Regions from separate parts of the Homo sapiens genome. Here region 2 is linked to region 1. Evidence: promoter capture Hi-C in human tissues and cell types (Jung and others, 2019). All regions are on one chromosome and are shown on one strand. The core of a region is centred on a gene start or on the middle of the fragment in contact, and the rest is flanking DNA. Distances in the headings are between cores, read along the strand shown. Region 1 holds the start of HERC1 (HECT and RLD domain containing E3 ubiquitin protein ligase family member 1). Region 2 overlaps HERC1 (HECT and RLD domain containing E3 ubiquitin protein ligase family member 1).

Region 1 (5,697 bases), core at 2,812-5,311:
GAACTATTGGGGACCAAGTACGTGAGGTGGAATGAATTCTTTTTCTGGTGTTTAAACACAAGCTGTAAGAACAAAATGTTTCTAATTAAGATACCACTAATTTTTCTCTCCATTAATTCCATCTTTATTCAAAGCTAAGGGTGTATATAATGACTCCACATCAAAGACTCTTTTCTAATGGTTTAGGAGATACAATTTTTATTAGAACCAAGGAGAATTCACAGCCCACAACAGAACAATTTGTTGAAGTTATTTTGGAGTTGATTTAGGAATCGCTCTTCATGAAATGTGATGAATCTTCATTATGGATGCTTTTTTTTTTTTGAGACAGAATCTCACTCTGTCACCCAGGCTGGAGTTCAGTGGTGCGATTTCCGCTCACTGCAACCTCTGCTTCCTGGGTTCAAGCAATTCTCCCTGCCTCAGACTCCTGAGTAGCTGGGATTACAGGTGCCCGCCACCAAGCCTGGCTAATTTTTGTATTTTTTAAATAGAGACGGGGTTTTGCCATGTTGGCCAGACTGGTCTTGAACTCCTGACCTCAGGTAATCTGCCCACCTCAGCCTCTCAAATTGCTGGGATTACAGGCGTGAGCCACCGTGCCTGGCCCATTATATATGTTTTCTAAACCTCCTCCAAAAAGGCTTTCAGCTCTTTTTGCACTTCTTCTGGTTTGCTTGCTCCCTCCCACTATACCTTTATCACTTGCACTCTCCTCATGTGATATTATATCGATCTATTTTCTTCCCTCTCTCCTCCCATTAGACCATAAGCTCCTTGAGGGCAGGTGTTTAAGCTTGTTCAATAGTATATTTAGTGCCTTGCACAGTGCCTGACTTATGATAGGCATTCCACAAAGACCTGTTAAATGAATGAATGAATAATCATACCTCACATTTAAATAGTGCTACAAATATGGTTACAAAGTACTTTCTTATGTTATTTGACTCCCATGATACTCTCCGGCAGGCAGTGGGTTTTATTATTACCCCTATTTACAGATGTGAGACTAGGCTCAGAAAGACTGTGTAATGGCAGGGCAACTAGGCTGCAATTTCTGGAGCTACCAGAACTCATGTCCATGGATTCCTGCTCTGGAGCTCTTTTCTGTTTTCAGAGTGATATATTTCCTGAGCCAAGTGCCAAGGGCAACACAAACTTACTCCCAGTGTCTGTTTACCCCTGCTGCTCTGCCTCCACACTTTACTGCTCTGCTGGATTTCTTCACTTCAAACTTAGCCCTGATTTTTATCTAGGAGTTGCACATTTCCTAAATGCAGATGAAAGATGAAAAATATATATTCTACTGTTGATTCTCCAGTTCCTTTGCCTGGGACCTCCCAGCTGTGGTGTGGTGCTGTGAAGTATGAGGCATGAAGTGGGGGTGACATACGTGAGGGGAGGAAGATGTGGCTGACTGGTATGGCCAGGGTATGCTGCTCAGAGGGCTATCAGACCAAGGGCTTGTGATGCTTAGGACTTGGCTGTGGCTCTGAGATCCCTCCATCCACTCTTCCCATCTCCAACATTTTTCTTTAGGGAAATCTGAATAAAATGAACTGGTAGAGTTGGGAGGTTAATGCTGACAACAAGGTTCCAGGATATGCTGATTTGAGTATGAAACAGTGTTTTAAGCATGGTGCGGTGGCTCACGCCTGTAATCCCAGCACTTTGGGAGGCCGAGGCAGGCAGATCATTTGAGGTCAGGAGTTCGAGAGCAGCCTGGGCAACATGGTGAAACCCTGTCTCTACTAAAATATAAAAAAATTAGCCGGGCATGGTGCAGCACACCTGTAATCCCAGCTACTAGGAAGACTGAGGCAGGAGGATCGCTTGAACCCGGGAGACAGAGGTTGAAGTGAGCCAAGATCACGCCACTGCACTCTAGCCTAAGCAGCAGAGTGAGACTCCACCTCAAAAAGAAAAAAGAAAGAAAGAAAAAAACAGTGTTTTGGGAAAGAGTGGTGTGGTCAAGGTGAGGGTGGCTAGTAGTCAGGGCTCACTTGCTGACACTAACAGTATTTGCTAATTGTATGCAACTGAACACAGTTGTATTCAATTCTCTTTTACACACAGCTCTGAGGGTGGAAGCTAAGGAGATGGTAAAAGAGGGAGTCTCTTGATTGGTCTTTAAAGTAAGCAGTCCTTTTCTTGAAATAGAATGGGCAAAACCAGGCTGGGCACGGTGGCTCACCCCTGTAATCCCAGCACTTTGGGAGGCCAAGGCGGTCGGATCACAAGGTCAGGAGTTCGAGACCAGCCTGGCCAATATGGTGGAACCCCATCTCTACTAAAAATACAAAAATTAGCCAGGCATGGTGGCACACACCTGTAATCCCACCTACTTGGGAGGCTGAGGCAGGAGAATCGCTTAAACCTGGGAGGCGGAGGTTGCAGTGAGCCAAGATGGTGCCATTGCACTCTAGCCTGGGCAACAAGAGCAAAACTCCATCTCAAAAAAAAGAAAAAGAAAAAGTGGGCAAAACCAGTACAATTTTACAAATTCAAGAAAGACAGAATATCATATTTGTGAGTGACGTAGATGACATCAACAAGTTAAAAGGAGGAGCTTTTGCTTGTTGTTTTTGAGTATGCTTCACACACAATACCCAGATCATAAAGCACTAGCAACAATGACATCACTCCTCATGTAGCTACTCCCTTACATCATTTACCAGAAATACACATTTTATACATAGAAACTTAAAAGCTACACACCTAAGACCCATCATTTAATGAGTACTTAATATGTGCCGTATGTGAGCTTTACATATATTTTACTCCTCAGAGGAACCTTGTGATAACAAGAACTGGCATTATAAATTGACACATAAGGAACTGAGGTTCAGAGAGGTCAAGCAACTTGCCCAAGGTCACACACCTGGGGTAAGTGGGATTCCAGAATTCCCACCAGTGTCTGACAGTGAAGCACATGGCTCCTAACTCTTGGACTAAACTGCCTCATGTGACACACAAACATGTATCTAATTTAACCATGGGAAAGCACTCCCTCGTCTGTCTATACCGTAATTTCTTACATTAGTGACACATTCATGGCTTGTATGTTTGTGTGCTTCTCCTACGCCTCCAATTGGATTGCAAACTTCTGGAACGCAGAGGCCAACTCTATTTTTTGTCCCCAAGTCATCGGTCAGTTTAATTGATGCTCGTTAGAATATCTGGAAGGAAAGACACCATGAAGGTGGCTGGAAAGGAGTAAAACCAGGTACAGAAGGAGGAAGATGGAGATGGGGTATTCACTCAACAATTTAATGTCCACTTGGACCTATGTTAGGCGCTGGAGATATGGTGAGGACTGAGCCAGTCTGTGTCCTTCCCCTCATGGGGTTTCACGTGGAGGTCGAGGTCATGATCAAGGATGTAAGTCACCCAAAGGACACTACTGTGTTCCCAAGCAGAAAAGAAAACCGAGGAGCCAGGCCCTGGCATCTGCAGGGTTCTGGCAGTCCCATAAGGCGCAAAGACATGAACAAGGTGGAAGAGTAGGTCAAGTGAAACGCTTTTATGTGATTGAACTTAGCCGGCCGGAGGGCCGGGGCCGCTGCGATGAGAGATAAAGAGCGTGGGGCGCCGGGTGCGAGGCGGAGATAAAGGGGTGAGGCCCTGGCCCTGCCGCCGGCCGTAACACGTGTCCCTTCGCCTGGCGGCGGGGTCTTCCCTGCCCACCACGAGGAAAAGGGGGCGCACTGCATGGCCCCCCACTCCTCACCACCCTTTGTGAAACGCCCCCAATTGTGCTTCATCTGTGGAGTCAGGTCCCCGCAGGCGGTCGGGGCTGCCCGGATTCCGCGACGGCTGAAGGGTGAGGGCCGCGCGGTAGCAAAGTGTCCCCAGCACCTAGCTTGGCTCCCCTCGCTCCCAAATCCCTTTCCCCTTTTCGCTCAACCCCCAACTCCACCTCAGCCGCCTTCCTCTCGGTTCCCCTTTCACCTCCCGCGCTGGGCCTGTTGGGCGGGGCGAGGGCTCCCGGCTGCGCGAGAGTTCCGCCCAAATCTCGTGAGACTCGCCTGACGCCGCCGCTGCTGCCGCCGCCTCTTACGTCTTTCCCTTTGACAAGTCGCTGCTGCTGCAGCAAAAATAAAGGACGCGACCGCCGCAGCCTCTGCGGAGCCGGGCTCGGGTCGCCGGAGCCGCGCCCCACCCCGCCAGCTCCAGAGCCACGTACGGTAACGCATCATCTACCGTCCTCCTGGTCCTGTGTGTGTGTGTGTGTGTGTGTGTGTGTGTGTGTGTGCGCGCGCGCGTGTGTGCTTTGCCGGCCGCGCAGGGCCGGCCGGGGCCGTTTCGGGACTGCAGCCGAGCGGGGCTGCTGGGGTCCCGGGTGGGCGGCAGGCGAGCTGGGGGAGCCCTCCTGGCGCGCCGCGGATCCCCCGGGTCCCCGGCTCTAGAGGCCTCCTGCCGCCCGGGCGCCTCGGAGCAGCGTAGAAGCCGAGGCGCCCGCGGAGAGGGCCGAGAGACCCGCCCCTCCAGCGGCTTACAACGTCTGTGCCCCGGCCCCGCTGTGGTCGCGTCTCTTTCTGCTTCATTCCTTTATCTGCTGACCAGCTCCTCTGCCCCGGCTGGGGCTCGGTCCGCGGGCGGCGGCCGACTCCCTCTCAGGGTCCGGGGAGTGCCGCGACCCCGGTGTCCCCAGGCGCCGGCCGCCTTTAGCGGGGTGGAGGCTGGGACGACGTGTCTTCCTCCTCTCCTCTGCCTTTGGGTGAGGGCAGCTCATCATCTGCTAAACCTTTCTCCAAATCTCCCGCCCCAATAAAACAACAAATTATAAAGCCTTTGCAACCGGGAGGCGAGGCGGGGCGCATTGTTTAGTCTTAAGCGTGAGATGAGGATGATGATGGTGATGACAGGAGCTACCCCGGGGAACATGGTGAAATCTGTTCTGTGATGGGTGGCAGGTTACTGGGAGACACGAGGAGGACAGGAGCTTGTACCACCTCTCCCAGGAGGTTATGTAAAAGACATGTTATCTTAGAGAGCTGTGAAACACAGGGACAGATTTGTCTTAGTTTAAGAAATGTCTATAATACTTAGAATATAGAGATAATTAAATGATGGGAATAACAAATCTGAACAAACTAACCCATCTTTGTAATTCCATCTCCAGAGGTGGCATTTCATGGTTAACATTTTATTGTATTTCCTAACAGACACATTTTTTTTTATCCTTGCTTGGGACTTCCTCATTCTATATTTGTTCCAAAAATGATTTATTTTATTTGAATCAGTTCTCTGGCCTGCTTGATTAAAACTGGCTGCTAGTTCATTATCACTGGCTGAACTCTGCCATCACTATCTTTTTCACTGGGCCCTTTTCCAAAATGATTGTTAGCTAAGTGGTTTGAAAAATCAAACGTTAAAACATTGTCTGTTTGGGTCTAGTACCTATGTATATATTATATTTTTACAATTCTGTTAGTGGTGGTTGCTCAAAATGGGGCAGTATTTGTAGAAGGGAAAGAAACTATGATTATTCATAGTGGGAAGAAACCTATTTACCTCAGGTTTTATGAAATTGATTTCTACTGGATATTTTTAGACCAAAATTGTTCTGTGACATTGTTTCATAGTGCCTGTTGTGATTAGTGTGGGATGAGTATGTCTCTTTGATATATGTGTTTCCATAGCCTGCGTTTATACAAGCAAAATTGAATGTCCTAGGTGCCTGTCTTATGCATA
Region 2 (5,336 bases), core at 2,654-5,153, 130 kb after region 1:
TGAGAGGGCCCATTGCCTGTAATCTCAGTATTTGACAGTGGGGATACTAAGATTCACGCTGTTGAACCACAATTGCGCCTTTTTCTCCCCTCACTTCAGTTAATGTTTCACAATTGGTCTAAGCCCTTGGTCTGAGAAAGTGAATATGTAGGAAGGGGCAAAGAAATGTGGGCAGATACATTTAGCCACCTTGCTCAGCTTTTCAGAGGCATCAAAGCTAAATTTACTCTTTTTTTTTTTTTTTTTTTGAGACAGAGTCTCGCTCTGTAGCCCAGGCTGGAGTGCAGTGGCGTGATCACGGCTTACTGCAACCTCCTCCTCACGGGTCCCTGTTCAAGCAATTCTCCTGCCTCAGCCTCCTGAGTAGCTGGGATTATAGGCATGTGCTGCTAAGCCCAGCTAATTTTTGTATTTTTAGTAGAGACGGAGTTTCACCATGTTGGCCAGGCTGGTCTTGAACTCCTGACCTCGTGATCCCCCCACCTTGGTCTCCCAAAGTACTGGGATTACAGGCGTGAGCCACCATGCCCGGCCAGCTAAATTTACTTCTAAAAGAGGTGGATGAAACATTTCTTCTGCTTAGCACCTCAGAGGCAATATGAAATTTGTATTTAGTAAACATTTATAAACTACTTACTATATGAGCATTGTTCTAAGCCCTTCACAAATATTATAGTAACTCATTTAATTTTCATAACAGCCTGATAAAATTCTTGACAAAACCTGTAAAAATATGTTAGTAATTTGGTACTTTGATAAAACTTAAAAGATTTGCTATGGTTGTACGATTGTTTACAGAAAGACAATACGTTTTTGCAGATACTTGATTTTAGTTTTCATATTTAAGCTGAAGATGATACAGTGAAAAGTTGTGGGATATCAAAACAGCAACTTAAGCAGCATCAGAAATCTTATTAGTTAAAATACTGTGTGGTTTGATTATCGCCCCTAATCTTTAAATATTTTGATAGGGTTTTATTGCTAAAATAATACTGGAAACATTTATCAACATGTGTGTTTCATGGTATAACATGTATGGGTGAAATGCTATTTTGTCTGTGCATTTCAAATTAGATGATATAAAGAAAAGCGAATGTAAATGTTTCTCTCCTGTATCAAATTTCTCCTTTTGTTTTCTGATTCTCGTGTGGTAGTGTATTTACTCCTTTTTGGCCAGTTGAGCCCCAGAAAAAAGAAGAGCTTCAAGCAAGTACATGATGGCATGTTTAATTTTTTTCCCCTTTTAGCTTGCCTACATATTTTATGGTTTATAAAGTATGTATTGCAGCTCTGCCATGTTCATTTTGAAAATTCCATTTAAAAACCAAACTTGTAAGGACAAGTAAACAATCTCAAAAATTTTTTGTTGGATTTTGTATTTTCTTTATATAGTAGGTGATTCTGAATTAGTATTAAGAATTGGGCTTAGTCTCAATTGTTATGTAGAAGCTTTTAATGCCCTTTTCAGATATAATATTTCCTGTATTCAGATAGTACAGAGCAAACCAAAGTTATCAGATTGTTATACTTAAAAAAAAAATTAAAGTTCTTTCCTCTCCCATTTCCATATTATAAATTTTTGTGTTTTAAGTCTTTTTGATGTCAAACTAAATATTTTGATGGAAATTATTTATCCTGATGCTTCCACATAGTGTGTTTCCTGTTCTTAATATTTTATTTATACAAAGTTACATTTGGGTTAATTTCATCCGTTAGGGCTCAGCAGACTACAGCTAGGAGGCCAAGACTGACCTGGCATCTATTTTTATCAGGTTTTATTGGAACACAGCCACACTCATTTATTTAAGTGGTTGCTTTCATACTACAACAGCAGAGTTGTGTAGTTGTCACAGAGACCTTATGGTCTGCAAAGCCTAAAATATTTACTGTCTGGCCCTTTACAGAAAAAGTTTGCCAACCCCTGCTTTAAATTGCAGAAGATTTAATTTTGGGCTTCGTCAGCCATTCCATAGAATATTTTGGTTTATATGAAGACAGTTCAGTATTGGTAGATTCATAATTGAACCTTTATATAGGCAGGCAATTGAAATTTCCATCAGTGATTTGTGAGTTGGTTAATAATGAATATGTAAGACTACCTCCCATAAAATTAAGGAATTAATGTCATTATGTGACAAACCAATTTTTTTGTGCCTCTGTTTCCTCATTTGTGAAAATTGGACTAAATAATCTTTAAGGTCTCTTTTTCTTCTGCAGTTCTAATATCAGTTCCTTGCGCATTTTATATTCATTTTGAAAAGTAATTTATAAGTATTAGTAACTAGAAGAACCTTTTATTCTAAAATTTTAATATTTAAAAAAAAACACCCCCCCAAAAAACAAGTTCAATGTGAGGAGCCAGAATCTATCATTTGTAAGTTAAGGCTAAATACAGATTCTGAATTTGAGGTGCTTTAAGGAAATGAAAAAAGAATGTATATATTTTTTACATTAGCCTCTACTTTATTCTTTAAATATTTTTAACTTAATACATTATGCATCTATGATATTATTCTTTGAATTTTCAGTTTTTTCTGTGTCACATGAAAGAATATTCAGGTCTACAATTTGGGGAAATTTTTAGGTAGGTTGTTATTTTTCATGTTCAGCAAGAATGAAAATTAAGCTTTTTTTTTTTTTTTTTTTTTTGAGGCAGGGTCTCGCCCTGTCACCCAGGCTGGAGTGCAGTGGTGAAAATTAAGCCTTTTTAAATCTTAATAATTCTTTCTAAAACACAGAAGGCAGATAAACCATATATTCTTTGCCATTCTACATTATTTTACTAGGATACATATAAATTATTTCATAGTTACTTTGTAATATTAGCTCCGTGTTACGAATTTTGAAATCCTAGGGTTTAATTGACACCAGTATAGTAATTCAAAAATAAGATTCTACATTGAATATTGTTGTTAGTTTGTTTTCTCTGTGGGCATTAGTGTTTAAGTAGTTATCTTCCCAAACTTTTCTATCTAGTTACATAACTGATATAATTTTTATGCATATTTAATTGGGTACCTTAAGATACTTCCCTAATTGAGAAATGTAGTATATTCACATAATAGGATGTTATACAGCAATCAAATAAATGAACCATGGTTACACTTAGTAATGTGGATGAATATTAGCAATATTATATTGAATGAAAGAGTGTGTCCAAAAAGGTGATATAAAATGATACTCTTTTTTAAAAGTCAACGACAACTAAAACCATTATTCATCTTAGGAATACATTAAAACAATAAAAACAAGGAAATAATAAACCCAGGCCTCAGGATAATAAAACTTTAGGTAGCAAGAGATGGGCTGGAGGAGGAGCAAATAGATAGAAGTTACTGTTAGTTTTCTAGTTCTTGTGTTCACAGATATTTATTATAAATATGTGATTTCAAAATTGGGCCATGCATGGACCAATGATGAGAGTATGTCATGACGAAAGGATTGTAGTTAATCAAATTTATGTATCTGAGACCAGTTAAATTAAAGATTTGTAAGAATTGGACATTTATATATTTATTTAAAGCTAATATTGACAAATGACTTGGACAGTTGCTGTTATGTTCAAACATGTTAACATTTTGCTGTCTAATGTAAAGATTTTAGCTTAAAAAATACCCACTGGCAAATCTAATGGTATTATATTTAGCAACTATTTTGATGCCACTTGATAATTTTATATAGGTATCATTTTACAGTAAATCTCATATTCTTGTCTGTGAAACTTTGCTTCCTCTATATAGGAGTTTCACAACCTGCAGTAAATATGCACATGACACAGTCAGTGAGAATGTTCCTTATATTAATGAAACCCAAAGGGTGATGTTTGTGTCTGCTTTTTGTGTAAGTTTACTTGCCCTTCTATATTCATTTTTTGGTAATGTTTCATTGCAGATATGTAGACACTTTGTTCAGTCTTAACTTGCCCTTTGTAATGATAATGTTAAATTAGATGAAATCTTTCTGTTTTGAGTAGGTCTTACTAGCAGTGTCTTAAGTGCCTAGTTCCTTTTTGTTCATAAATGATGATCTGGTTTAATACTGCAGAGCATTTTAAGCTAAGCATTTTGAGAACAGCTTCTGCCTTTCTTTTTCTTGTGGCAGCGTGTTGCTAAAGCGCTTACAGAGACACTGGTACATCAAACAGGGCTTTCCCTTTATTTTCTTACATTGCTCTAATTTTTGTTTGTTTGTTGTTTTTACCAAAGCATTTTGCTCAGATTCACTTAATGCATGCGCGTATTCAAACATGAGTATCCATTTTTCACCAGTTGGTTATGGTAGCAGCACTCAGCCTTATCTAGTTTCAGAATGTATGCTCTACTTGATTGCCATTGATATATGTTTATTCTGTTTGTATATAGGTCCTATGCACAGTCAATTGGAATCCCTGAGTGACTCTTGGGCTCGCCTGAAACATAGCAGAGACTGGTTATGCAACTCCTCCTATTCCTTTGAGTCAGATTTTGATCTTACCAAGTCTTTGGGAGTTCACACTTTGATTGAAAATGTTGTAAGCTTTGTGAGTGGAGATGTGGGGAATGCCCCAGGTTTTAAAGAGCCAGAGGAAAGTATGTCTACAAGTCCCCAGGCCTCCATCATTGCAATGGAACAGCAGCAGTTAAGGGCAGAAGTAAGTCTTTGATATTTACTCCTTATGAGAGCTCTGGAAACTTAAAACTGAACCATTGAATGTATAGTTCTAGGGAAAACCTTTCCTTTTCTTCTATTCCTTGCCTTCCCCTTTCCTGTACCTGAGCTTTTAAACATAACATTCTTCACTAGAACAGCACATTATTTTGTTTGAACTAGACAAAAGTGCATTTTAAAATTGTCATCTCTCAGAACAATATACTCAGAAGTCTTCACATGTCTCCTACAAACTAGGGTGAGACTAGTTGATGACAATAGGTCATCAGAGCCTTTTTTTTTTTTTTTTTTGGAGACGGAGTTTCGCTCTCGTTGCCCAGGCTGTAGTGCAATGGTGAGATCTTGACTCACTGGAACCTCTGCCTCCTGGGTTCAAGTGATTCTCCTGCCTCAGCCTCCAGAGTAGCAGAGATTATAGGCATGCGCCACCATGCTTGGCTAATTTTTTTGTATTATTAGGAGAGACAAAGTTTCACCATGTTGGCCAGGCTGGTCTCGAGCTTCTGACCTCAGGTGATCCACTTGCCTCGGCCTCCCAAAGTGCTGAGATTACAGGTGTGAACCACCACTCCTGGCCCTGAGCCTTCATTTTTGACCCATTTGTCTCAGTTTAAATTAGACACCTGCTTCAGGTTAGAACCTCACAGAAATAATTGCTGCAATCAAGACCCACTGTTGAATGCTAAAAT

What was found. Contacts are between HindIII fragments. The study calls those that stand out against the background at their distance.
Region 2: a fragment that was not itself captured here is called in contact with the fragment with the promoter of HERC1 in region 1 in 1 of the 25 tissues and cell types used here (bladder).

The regions. Positions count from the first base shown.
Region 1 is chr15:63,832,312-63,838,008 of GRCh38, reverse strand. HERC1 (HECT and RLD domain containing E3 ubiquitin protein ligase family member 1) reads left to right here and starts at 4,061. Exons shown (of 78, transcript NM_003922.4): 1 at 4,061-4,182. RefSeq lists enhancers at 3,873-4,002, 3,176-4,039, 4,040-4,905 and a silencer at 4,243-4,672. The HindIII fragment of the contact is 22,604 bases long and covers 1-5,697 here.
Region 2 is chr15:63,698,022-63,703,357 of GRCh38, reverse strand. HERC1 (HECT and RLD domain containing E3 ubiquitin protein ligase family member 1) reads left to right here. Exons shown (of 78, transcript NM_003922.4): 26 at 4,362-4,630. Among named protein-coding and RNA genes, the nearest start is that of USP3-AS1, 100 kb to the right of the region's middle. The HindIII fragment of the contact is 3,729 bases long and covers 2,039-5,336 here.